2 separate regions of the Homo sapiens genome follow, and region 2 is linked to region 1. The links are contacts of gene promoters, found by promoter capture Hi-C in blood cells and fetal thymus (Javierre and others, 2016). All regions are on one chromosome and are shown on one strand. The core of a region is centred on a gene start or on the middle of the fragment in contact, and the rest is flanking DNA. Distances in the headings are between cores, read along the strand shown.

The links. The method cuts DNA at HindIII sites, captures the fragments that hold promoters and counts their contacts. A CHiCAGO score of 5 or more calls a contact.
Region 2: a contact is called between a fragment that was not itself captured here and the fragment with the promoter of NPAP1 in region 1, in 1 of 17 cell types (M2 macrophages). The highest score is 6.3, in M2 macrophages.

Annotation. Positions count from the first base shown.
Region 1 is chr15:24,672,275-24,677,888 of GRCh38, forward strand. NPAP1 (nuclear pore associated protein 1) reads left to right here and starts at 3,501. Exons shown (of 1, transcript NM_018958.3): 1 at 3,501-5,614. The coding sequence starts at 3,594. The HindIII fragment of the contact is 3,995 bases long and covers 1,572-5,566 here.
Region 2 is chr15:25,485,200-25,490,813 of GRCh38, forward strand. All of the region lies in intron 4 of LINC02250 (long intergenic non-protein coding RNA 2250), which reads right to left. Among named protein-coding and RNA genes, the nearest start is that of UBE3A, 49 kb to the left of the region's middle. The HindIII fragment of the contact is 3,038 bases long and covers 1,935-4,972 here.

The sequences.
Region 1 (5,614 bases), core at 2,251-4,750:
TGGTTACAGTAAAGGGCGGAAGAGTGTGGACAAATGTGAATCTGAAAGAGCCAATTCTTCTAAATCAATCCTGTGTGGCTAACTGGGCGTAAATTTAAAATACAGCCCAGCAGCCATTTGCTGACTAGAGTTTATACCTGCACTGGCCAATTGGAACTAAGCCAATGTCTTTCTTTCTCTTTTTCTTTTTTTTTTTTTTTTTTTTTTTTTTTGAGACAGAGTCTCACTCTGTCACCCAGGCTGGAGTGCATTGGCATGATCTTGGCTCACTGCAACCTCTGCCGCCTCACCCAGTGAAGTAGCTGGGATTACAGGTGTGCACCACCACACCCAGCCAATTTATTTATTTATTTATTTATTTTTGTAGTTTTAGTAGAGACAGGGTTTCACTGTGTTGCCCCGGCTGGTCTCAAACTCCTGATCTCAAGTGATCCATTCACCTGGGCTTCCCAAACTGCTGGGATTACAGATGTGAGCCACCACAGTGGGCCAGAACTAAGCCAGTTTCAAACCTTCATTTGCCTAAAGAAACTTATGTGGGAACCTGGACAGCGAACTTTTGCTATAAAACCCAAGTCTTCCCTTTGTTTTCTGGAATGCACCTTTGTTTTGCAACAGAGGATGCAAACAGTTCACTGGAATAAAGTCTCTTTCCTCCACATTCCTTTTTCAGATAACTTTTCTTCACGAGAGAGGAGACTGAAATTATTTTAGGGAAAAAAGTTCATTTAATGAGGTTCATGAGTCAATAAAGTCCAAAGGATTCAGTGTGTCCTCACATTAACTCTGTATGACTTACAGTGGGTTGTTGGTGAAAGTGTTCAACTATAGGGTGCTAGGTATGGTTTATTGTCACTACCACAATTCTATACAAAGCTAGCCACCCAGAGATTCATTTGATATGACTGGAGATTGGTGCTTTAAAAAATTATTAAATTACAAGTAATCTCACCTGGCAACTATAAATTGTTGCTATTATCACAGTATTTATATAATTATTAAATTAAATTTTTGGAAAATATTTTGCCTTGACAAATTTCATCTCAACATGTTTGCGTCTGCCAAGTCAAAAGATCTCAGAATAATCAGTTGCCATCTAATGTTATTTTGCCTCACAAACACAAGGAAGATTTTATATTCAAAAAAAGCATCTATTCCCATTTGACAAGAAAAATAAAGAGGTGGATTTTTCTGGAATACCCTTGTCCAAATTTCCTTTTATTGTCCTGAAGCCCCAATATTCATTATTTGTTTAATGCATTTTTCCTGTTTGGGGGAAAATGCTGTAATTTATTGTTTTCAAATAAGCCTGACATTTGATTTTGTTTCAGAGTTCTTGTAGGAAATCTTTGTCCAAAACTTGTACCAGATTGTTCTTTTTGTTTAAACAAATAAAATCAAGAGATTATTTTTTATTAAACTCTCCTCAAATGATATCAAGAGATTACAGTTAAATGCCATAATTGTAAACAATTTCTCGGTTCCCTGAGAGGTTAGGAAGGACTTATAATATGTCTCCTCTTTTTAAACAGAATTTGGGTCTGAGCAAAACTTTGTGTCCTAGAAACATAAGCTTTGTTGGGTATGGAAGCCCACATTTACTCTGACATAGTATAAAATATATGAACAGGGGGATAAAAAGGATTTTGTAGTATGTTAACTAGGTTTGATGTTATTTTAAATCGATTTTTAAACTAAAAAATACATTAAAATATTTTTACTGATCTCTGATTCTTGGTTCTGAACCTTCCACATGTCCTATGTCTGGCACACAACATTAGCCCAAAGAGAGCAAAGCAGTCCAGTTAAATAAACCAAAGAAACAAGATTAAAACTAGATAAGGTCATGTGTAGGATTTTCCAAATCTTTCTTGTCATGCTGAAACTTCCAGCTCTTAAAACAGTAACACATATTTCCTTTGTCCTAAAAACCAATATTAAGTCTCCTTCCTTGGGCATAAGAATATGGATAGTTATACTTAGGTGACAGTAATGTGTGGTAAAGAGTGGGCCTTGCTGGCATGCGGACAATGACCAAATTGTATTGATCATATTTTAATCGAATACATTGCTCCACTACTGACTTGCAAATACATGATGAATTTGCTTTCTAACATATTCCAAGAAGGCCAGAGAACTGGCTTATCCATTTGGATTAATCCACTGGTGAATTTCTTTCGGGATAGGCCAAAATGGATCTGGACTATAATCTTTACATATTTAGATCCTTCAAACTAGACCAAAAAGGAAATCTGGGCTGCAAGGCTCAATTAGAAGAACAGTGTGGGATGCTGCTTTGCTGACTATTGGGGGTCGCTGCCCCATGTCTTCAGAGGAGACTGGAGCCCAGTGCCTGCCATGACCAACTTATGAGGTGAAGTAAGGGCTTCCCCCTAGGAACGCATGTGCTTAATACAGATGTGCTGTGTGCTAGGTACCCTAAGGACTACAGGAAATAATGAGAATACATGATGTGTCCATAACAAGGAGGCACACAGGCCACGGCACCAGCTCTGGAATCACACAGCCCAGGTTCGAAGCCTGGCTAGGCCACTGTCATATCAATGACCCAAGGAGCAAGCAGCCTAAGGCTTAAATGTTGTTGCTGTTGTTTGTTGTGGTTTTTTGTTTTTGTTTTTGTTTGAGACAAGAGTTTTGCTCTGTTCCCCCAGGCTGGAGTGCAGTGAGGTGATCTCAGCTCACTGCAACCTCCACCTCCCGCTTTCAAGCGATTCTCCTGCCTCAGCCTCCCTAGTAGCTGGGATTACAAGTGCGTGCCACCACGCTCAGTTAATTTTTGTATTTTTAGTAGAGATGGGGTTTCACCATGGTGGTCAGGCTGGTCTCGAACTCCTGACCTCAGGTGATCCACCCGCCTTGGCCTCCCAAAGTGCTGGGATTAAAGGCGTGAGCCACCGCGCCCAGCCTTAAATGTTGTTTAAAACAAATTTGTGAAAAGAAGTGAAGAGGCCCTGCCTGCCAGGAAGAGATGTGGTAGGGCGTAGCATCTAGTCAGGACAAGGCACCACGTCCCCTCCTCGGAAACCCTCACGGCCTGGCTGGTGACCCTGGCGCCACAGAGACGGCACACCTGGCTCCAGGCAGCACAGAGCACTGCCAAGGTCCTAGAGGAGGCTGGCAGGATATAGGTTGTCCTGTGCTTAACTTGAAGCAGATGTGCCCTCTGTGAACCGGGGAATGGGGACGGCCGACACAGGGCCACTGCGTGCAACAGCGCCGGGCCAGGGCTAAGGAACAGGCAGAGCCGGCGCCCAGGTGACAAGAGCTCTGGCGATGGGCCCGCAGGCCCCAGCAGTTCCCTCATAGAGGCCACGCGGTGCAACACCTGCCACCGGCAGCGGGGCTTCCGGGGGTCCTGGGGCAGCTGGGGCCGACGGGGCGTCGCCCTTTGCCCTCTGACCCCTGCCTTTTGCGCCCCCGCTGGCGCTCCCTGGTTCTGTGAGGAACCTCGCGGCGGCGTCGCAGGCGTAGAGCCAGTCAGTTTGTGCTTGGTCGCCAGAGGAGGCGGTGGCTGAGGAGAGTTGAGTCCACTGCTGACCCTGTTTTACGGTAGGAGGCACGGCTAGCTCTAAATGGGCAATTTACTTAGTAAATTTAGACCCGGGTGCCGCCGCCGGCCCCTGCCAGGGCCAGGGCGTGGCGCCCCCGCTCCCCTGTCCCGGGACGCCTCCCCGCCCGGTCGGGCTCACTCTGTACCCACCCCGCGCCCTTTCCGCGGCCTGTTCCGCCGGAACGCCCGTCGCAGGCCTTCAGCAGCCAGCATCTTCGTCGCCCCTAAGAGGCCGTGTCCTCTCCCTCGGGCTGCGGCCGCCCCTCTGGGGGTCCTGCCGGCTGTGGGTTGGGGGCTGGCCATCAGGAAGACACCCATGCTGCCTGCTCGGAACCCCCCGAGGTTTGGACACCCCAGTTCCGTAAGGATCCCTCCTCCCAGCCGCATGTTCACTCTCCTGCTGCCTTCACCACGTGAGCCGGCGGTCAAGGCCAGGAAGCCCATCCCAGCCACTCTCCTGGAGGAGACCGAGGTGTGGGCCCAAGAAGGGCCCAGAAGAGTGAAGAAGGATGAGGATCCGGTGCAGATCGAAGGGGAGGATGACGAGAAAAGGACCCCCCTTAGCAGCGGAGAAGCATCGTCCACATCCAGGTCCCAGGGCACCCAGGGAGACGTGGCCTCCTTCAGATGCAGCCCTGGGCCTCTGGAGGGAAATGTCTACCACAAGTTCTCAGAAAACAGCATGAGTGAGAAGGCCCAGGCGTCTCCAGCGAGCTCCTGCTTGGAAGGCCCTGCCATGCCCAGCACACACAGCCAGGCCGGATGTGCCCGGCATCTTGGAAAGCCTGATCCGGATGCAACAGCGCCCCCTGAGCCAGCCGTTGGCTGCTCCCTGCTGCAGCAGAAGTTGGCTGCGGAAGTGCTGAATGAAGAGCCACCGCCCAGCTCCCTAGGCTTGCCGATTCCGCTGATGTCCGGAAAGAGGATGCCTGATGAGAAGCCTTTCTGTATTCCTCCAAGGAGCGCTGCTCCTCCCAGAGCTGCCCGCAACAGGCCCTGCAAAAGGAAAATGTCGATTCCATTGCTGCTGCCGCTGCCCCCTTCACTGCCATTGCTGTGGGATCGAGGTGAGCTTCCCCCACCTGCTAAGCTCCCCTGCCTGTCTGTTGAGGGAGACCTACACACCTTGGAGAAGAGCCCTGAGTATAAAAGGAATAGCAGAATCTTGGAGGATAAAACAGAGACCATGACAAACAGCAGCATCACCCAGCCTGCCCCTTCTTTCTCCCAACCTGTGCAGACCACAGACTCCCTGCCCCTGACCACTTACACTTCCCAGGTCTCAGCTCCTTTGCCCATCCCTGACTTGGCTGACCTGGCTACTGGACCCCTCATCCTGCCTATCCCTCCACTTTCCACCACACCAAAAATGGATGAGAAAATAGCATTCACAATCCCTAACTCTCCTCTGGCTCTTCCTGCTGACCTTGTTCCCATTTTGGGTGATCAGTCTAATGAGAAAGGAGGCTCTTATAATTCAGTCGTAGGAGCAGCGCCTCTCACTTCTGACCCCCCAACACCTCCTAGCTCCACACCCTCCTTCAAGCCTCCCGTCACAAGGGAGTCCCCAATATCTATGTGTGTGGATTCCCCTCCTCCTCTTTCCTTCCTGACTCTTCTTCCAGTCCCTTCCACCGGGACCTCAGTTATCACCAGCAAGCCTATGAATTCCACGTCAGTCATTTCCACTGTCACAACAAACGCATCTGCCCACCTAACCTCACAGACTGCGGTAGACCCTGAAGTAGTTAATATGGATACTACTGCCCCATCTCAGGTTGTTATTTTCACATCTTCCCTAAGCTCCAGAGTGAGCTCTCTCCCAAATTCCCAAATACATTGCAGTGCAGAGCAGAGGCACCCGGGAAAGACATCAGTCTACACATCCCCACTTCCATTTATATTCCACAATACCACCCCAAGTTTTAACCAACTCTTTGGAAAAGAAGCCACCCCTCAGCCCAAATTTGAGGCTCCTGATGGGCAGCCGCAGAAAGCTTCTCTCCCCAGTGCCTGTGTTTTCCTGAGCCTTCCCATCATTCC
Region 2 (5,614 bases), core at 2,204-4,703, 810 kb after region 1:
CTTTTCACTTCAAATACACGAAAAATGTTGTGCCATTTTCTTCTGGGTTCCACTGTTTCAGATAAGAAATCTACTGTCATTTCCATCATTCTTCCCCTATGGGTGATTTGTCATTTTTCTCTAGTTTCTTTCAAAATGTTTTTTCTTTGTCTTTGGTATGGATTTCTTGGGCTTATCATATTTGGGATTCACTCAGATTCTTGAATCCATAGGATTGTGTGTGTTGCCAAACTTCAGAAGTTTTCAGTCTACTCCTTCTTTCAGCCCCACTCTCTTTTCTCCTCTTCATCTGAGACTCTGATGACAGAAATGTTAGATCTATTTTACAGTTCCATAGGTCCCTGAGAATATCCTTAATATTTATTAAGGATATTTTCTGATTGTTCAGATTGGTTACTCAAATTAGGCAAATTATATCCTCAAGTTCAGCGATTCTATCCTCTGTCATCTCCATTCTACAATTAAACCCATCTAGGAAGTTGTCTTTTTTTTAAGTTTCTGTTATTGTATTTCTTAGTTCTCTAATTTCCATTTGGTCCTTTTGTGTAACTTCTGTTTCTTTGCTGAGATTTTTAAAATTGTTTTTATTTGTTTAACCGAATTTATAATTGATTGTTGAAGCATTTTTATTACAACTGTTTTAAAATCTTCATCAGATAATTCCAAATCTTGCTCATCTCAGTGTTGCTGTCAGTTGACTGTCTTTTCTTATCCAAATTGTGATTTTCTTGGTTCTTGGCAAAATGGGTGATATTTTATTGTATCCGGAACATTTTGTCTATTATATTAAGAAACTCTGGAGTCTGTTAATTTTTTTTAATTTCTTTTTTTTATTTTAGCTGGCAGTCACTCTGTTTAGGTTAAGCACTCAGGTCCTGGATTACTTTTGTGGGCTGTGGTTTTAAATCAGTTATATTTCAGAGACTTTGGTCTTTGTTTATCTATGAGGGCTGGGAATCCCACTCCCTGCTGGTGCTGTTTGAGGGACGGAACAGGTTCTCCCAGGTTGGGCTATGGAGTGTCTCTTGGAGTAGGATGGGAATCTCAGGCCAGTGGGGACAAAGAGGTTTCCTGGGCTGGGCTACTTGTCATAGTGACATCCTTCTGCTGGCTCTGCCCACCCACCAGGCAGGCAGGGAATCTCAGCACAGAGGGGTCTCTTGTTTGTATTTTCACTAGACTGTAGACCTGTGGAGGTAAGACCAAGTCTGGCTCTAGCTCCAGTGTGAAGCACAGAATACAATGTGTAACAGGGTGTGTGTGCTGGGCTGGCTGTGCTATTGTTCTCCAACACCCAAGACCTCTTTGCAATTTGGCTTATTCATATATCTCATATGGGTAACGAAATGCAAGCAGGAAAGAGTATCACTTATAGGTGAAGGCTTTGAGGGCCAGGAGAACCTTTGCTTCACACTCTTTCCTGTGTCATCATCACTGACAATGTTTCAGATGGTAGCTGTTCCATCAACCCACATCTCAGAGTCCCAGAGTAAGAATGCAGACAGCTTGAAGCAGAATCCCTGCAGATCTTGGACGGCATATTACGTGAGTGAGCAGGAAACTTTGTATGTGAATTGCAGCAATTTGGGAAGTTGTTTGTCACCACAGCATCACCTGGCCTATCCTGCAGTGAATTTTGCTTAAAGGAGAAAATGAAGAGGCAAATTTTGTTGGCTCTGGAGAGTACTAGAAATGTATAAAACCACATATCTTAAAAATTACATTCATTAAACATTTTAGTAATTCAGCTTGTATCCTCTTGTTAGACATTAACAATTGGGGTTTTACTCTAGGGAAATGAGAAACCACAGTTTGGTTTGACAGCATCTGTCTGCATTAGAGTACCTTGGTGGTCTGTGAAGACATTTGCAATATAGACTGTTTACAGTTAAAGAGAATTGCGGGGGTCTGGATATTTTCAATTGCCAGAGAAAAGCTTTCCTTCTGTCTGCGCCTCCAGGATGGATTCTAACATTAAGGATTATTGACTTGGTGGCTTTGTGCTTATCCCCAAATTATTTCTGTTCATAGATTTTGCATTTCTTTGTCATTCTTCTGTAAATTTCTGTCTCCATCCTATAGCGTTGTATTGAGTTCTCCATAGGCCAGTAATGGAATCAGCTTATCTTGAACCAGACCGTAATACAGCCTCTGGGTGTGAACAAGGCCACAAGCAAGGAAACTGAATACATCCTAGAGGAAGGAAATTGAGTTTCTGCTGAGGACGTTTAGGTAACATCACAGCACTTGTGTTATTGCTGGATGATGTTTCTTAGATTAAGCTGGCCTTGACACTTTCTCCAATGCTTTTAATACGATTTATTACTGAGGAAAAGATCTGGTCATTTAATAAAGATGCAGAAATACTTTCTGTCAAATTGTAAGGAAGCAATCCGTGTATTTTTGCAATATTGAATTGGTGAAAGTGAAATCACTTTAAAATGAAATTAGAGTGACTCATACACCCCCTGAATCATGGAAATACAGAGACCTGTGGCCAGTTAAACCCCTGAAACAAATTATCCATCCATGGCTGTCCCTAAGCACCCTTTTCTATTAAGGAGACACCTATAGCATCCAGCCTATTGTCTTTTTTATCTTTCTAGCTTTATTTTCTGCTTCCTGTCACCTACTTTTTATACTTGACATTTCAGTGTCCCTAAATCTAGCAATAGAATAGTTTTTTCCTCTGTACATATTGGTCCTTTTCTGCTGTTCTGATCAAGGCATACTGTAGACTTTTTATTTTAAGAATTGTATTATTCTCCAGATAGTTTTCAAGTCTATTGTATAGCTAGACAGAGGGATATGGGGCTAGATTATGTTACAATGCCATAAACCCTCTGTTCTTTCCCACTTTCAGCAGTTTTTCTGGAACAAACTCTCCTCAGATTACTGTAAACCTTTGGTTAATTTCAAGATCTCTTAAATAACTGATTTTTTGACAATTTTGGCTACTGTGTTTATTGCTCTGATGGAAAGGTAGATTCATAGGGATTGTCAACCTACTATTCTGGTGGTAAAATTTTAATAAGTTAAATTATAAGGGAATGTACCCACAAAGATAGTGCATTTTATTTAATAAAAAATTGTTGAGCAGCTAGTATTTACTGGGCAGTGGCCTAGCCACTGAAGATTCAAGTGTGGGAAAGAAACACTTTTGCTCACATTTAGCATTTGCTAACAGAAAGTTTACCATTTTCAAAGGAAATAGACTCGCAGATAGGAAGAAGTAAGCTGAGGAAGGAAATAAGTCTTCCTCTTCAGGACTAAAAAAGGGACAGTTGGCCAGAGAATGGAGTAAAGAGGCTGACACATCCACTTCCATTTACATTTTGGCCAAGCCAGAGAATAAAAACCGTAAGGTCATTGTGAGAGTCCTTCCACATTAAACTTTGCCCCAAATTTTCCATTTTTCACTTTATTTCTCTTAATTTCCATCTGGAGAATAATAAAAGAATCAAATGGCAACTGTAGAGCTAAAACTATCTTAAGTTTTAGCTTAAGATAAGATGAGGCCAGGTGCAGTGGCTCATGCCTGTAATCCCAGAACTTTGGGAGGCCAAATCAGGTGGATTACCTGAGGTTAGGAGTTCAAGACCAGCCTGGCCAACATGGAGAAATCCCATCTCTACTAAAAATACAAAAAATTAGCCAGGCGTGGTGGCAGGTGTCTATAATCCCACCTACTTGGGAGGCTGAGGCAGAAGAATTGCTTGAAGCTGGGAGGCAGAGGTTGCTGTGAGCCAAGATCACACCATTGCACTCCAGCCTGGATGACAGAGCAAGACTCTGTCTCAAAATTAATTAATTAATTAATCAAAACATAAATAAAACTATCATAATGAAATGTAAAATTTCTTAGAGGGTTTCAACAGAAGATTTAATCTTACAGAAGAAAGAATCAATGAGTTTGAAAATAGGTCAATTCAGATTATGCAGCCTGGGAAACAGAAATATATAAAAGAATGAAGAAAAATTAACAGTCATAAATACCTATGGGACACCATCAAGCACACCAACCTACCCATAAAGGCAGTCCAAGAATGAGAGAAATGAGAAAAAGGAGGAGAAGGAATACTTGAGGAAAACAATGACCAAAACATCCCAATTTTGATGGAAGCATTTATGTTCATATCCAAGAATATCAAATTAGATAAACTGAAAGAAATCTACACTTACACATATAATAGGCAAAACTGTTAAAAGACAAATAAGGAATACTGAAGACAGAGAAAAATGACTCATTACATGCAAGTGATCTATAATAAGATTAATAGCTAGCTTTCCATAAAAAAATCATAGAGATGAGAATGCAATGAAATGACATATTCAAAGTGCCAAAAGAAAAAGAATGTCAATCAAGAATTCTATATCCAGCAAAACTATCTTTTATATATAAAGGATAAATTAAAGCTGCTGTAGATTTTAAAAAACTGAGGCCAGGTGTGGTGGCTCATGCCTGTAATCCCAGCACTTTGGGAGGCTGAGGCAGGAGGATCACTTGAGGTCAGGAGTTTGAGACCAGCCTGGCAGACATGGTGAAACCCCATCTCTACTAAAAATTAGCTGGGTGTGGTGGCAGGTACCTGTAGTCCCAGCTACGTGGGAGGCTGAGGCAGGAGAATCATTTGAACCTGCAAGGCAGAAGTTGCAGTGACCTGAGATCACACCACTGCACTCCCACCTGGGCAACAGAGCAAGACTCTGTCTCAAAAAAACCCCAAAAACAAAACTGAGAAAGTTCAGTGGTAGATGACCTGCTCCCCAAGAAACACTGAAGGAAGTATTGCAGGCTGAAATTAAGTGATATTTATTAGTAACTTGAATCCGCATGAGTTTGTAACACTTTACTTTCTGATTTAAAAGACAACTCCACATAGCAATAATTATAAAACTTTGTTGATGAGCTTTTAATGTATATAGTTTCCATGATGCACAATGAAAGGAGAATGGAGCTATATTTAAATGAAGCTTTTGAATACCATTACAATTAAGTTAGTTTAATCTGAAAGATATTGTTACTATGTTATTAACCACTCAAAAATAACTAAAAAAATACATAGTAAAAGGAACAACAAAGAAATTAAAGTTGTACACTAGAAATATATATTACTATAATAAGATATTAATGGGCATGTACAGGGACAGAAACCACATAAAGCATGTGGAAAACAAGTAGCAAAATGGCAGACATAAATCTCACCTTATCAGTAACTACATTAAATATAAATGATTAATTAATACATCAGGTAAAAGACAGTGACTGGCAGAAGAAATAATATAATCCAATTCTATTCTGTCTATAAGAGATACAGTTTAGATTTGAAAACCAAATACATTAAAAGTAAAATGATGGAAAAAGGGATACAATGCAAACAGTAGCCAAAATAGAGCTGAAGTGTCTATACCAATATCAAGAAAAATAGTTTTTAAGACAAAACTTGTTACTAAACACAAAGGATAAGTGACAAAGTGGTAGTGATCCCTCTGGAAAACACAATAATAATAAACATATCTGTACCTAACAACACAAATTTTAAAATACATGAAGCAAACTGACAGAAGGGAGAAATAGACAACTCAGCAATAGTTGGAAACTTTAATATCTCCC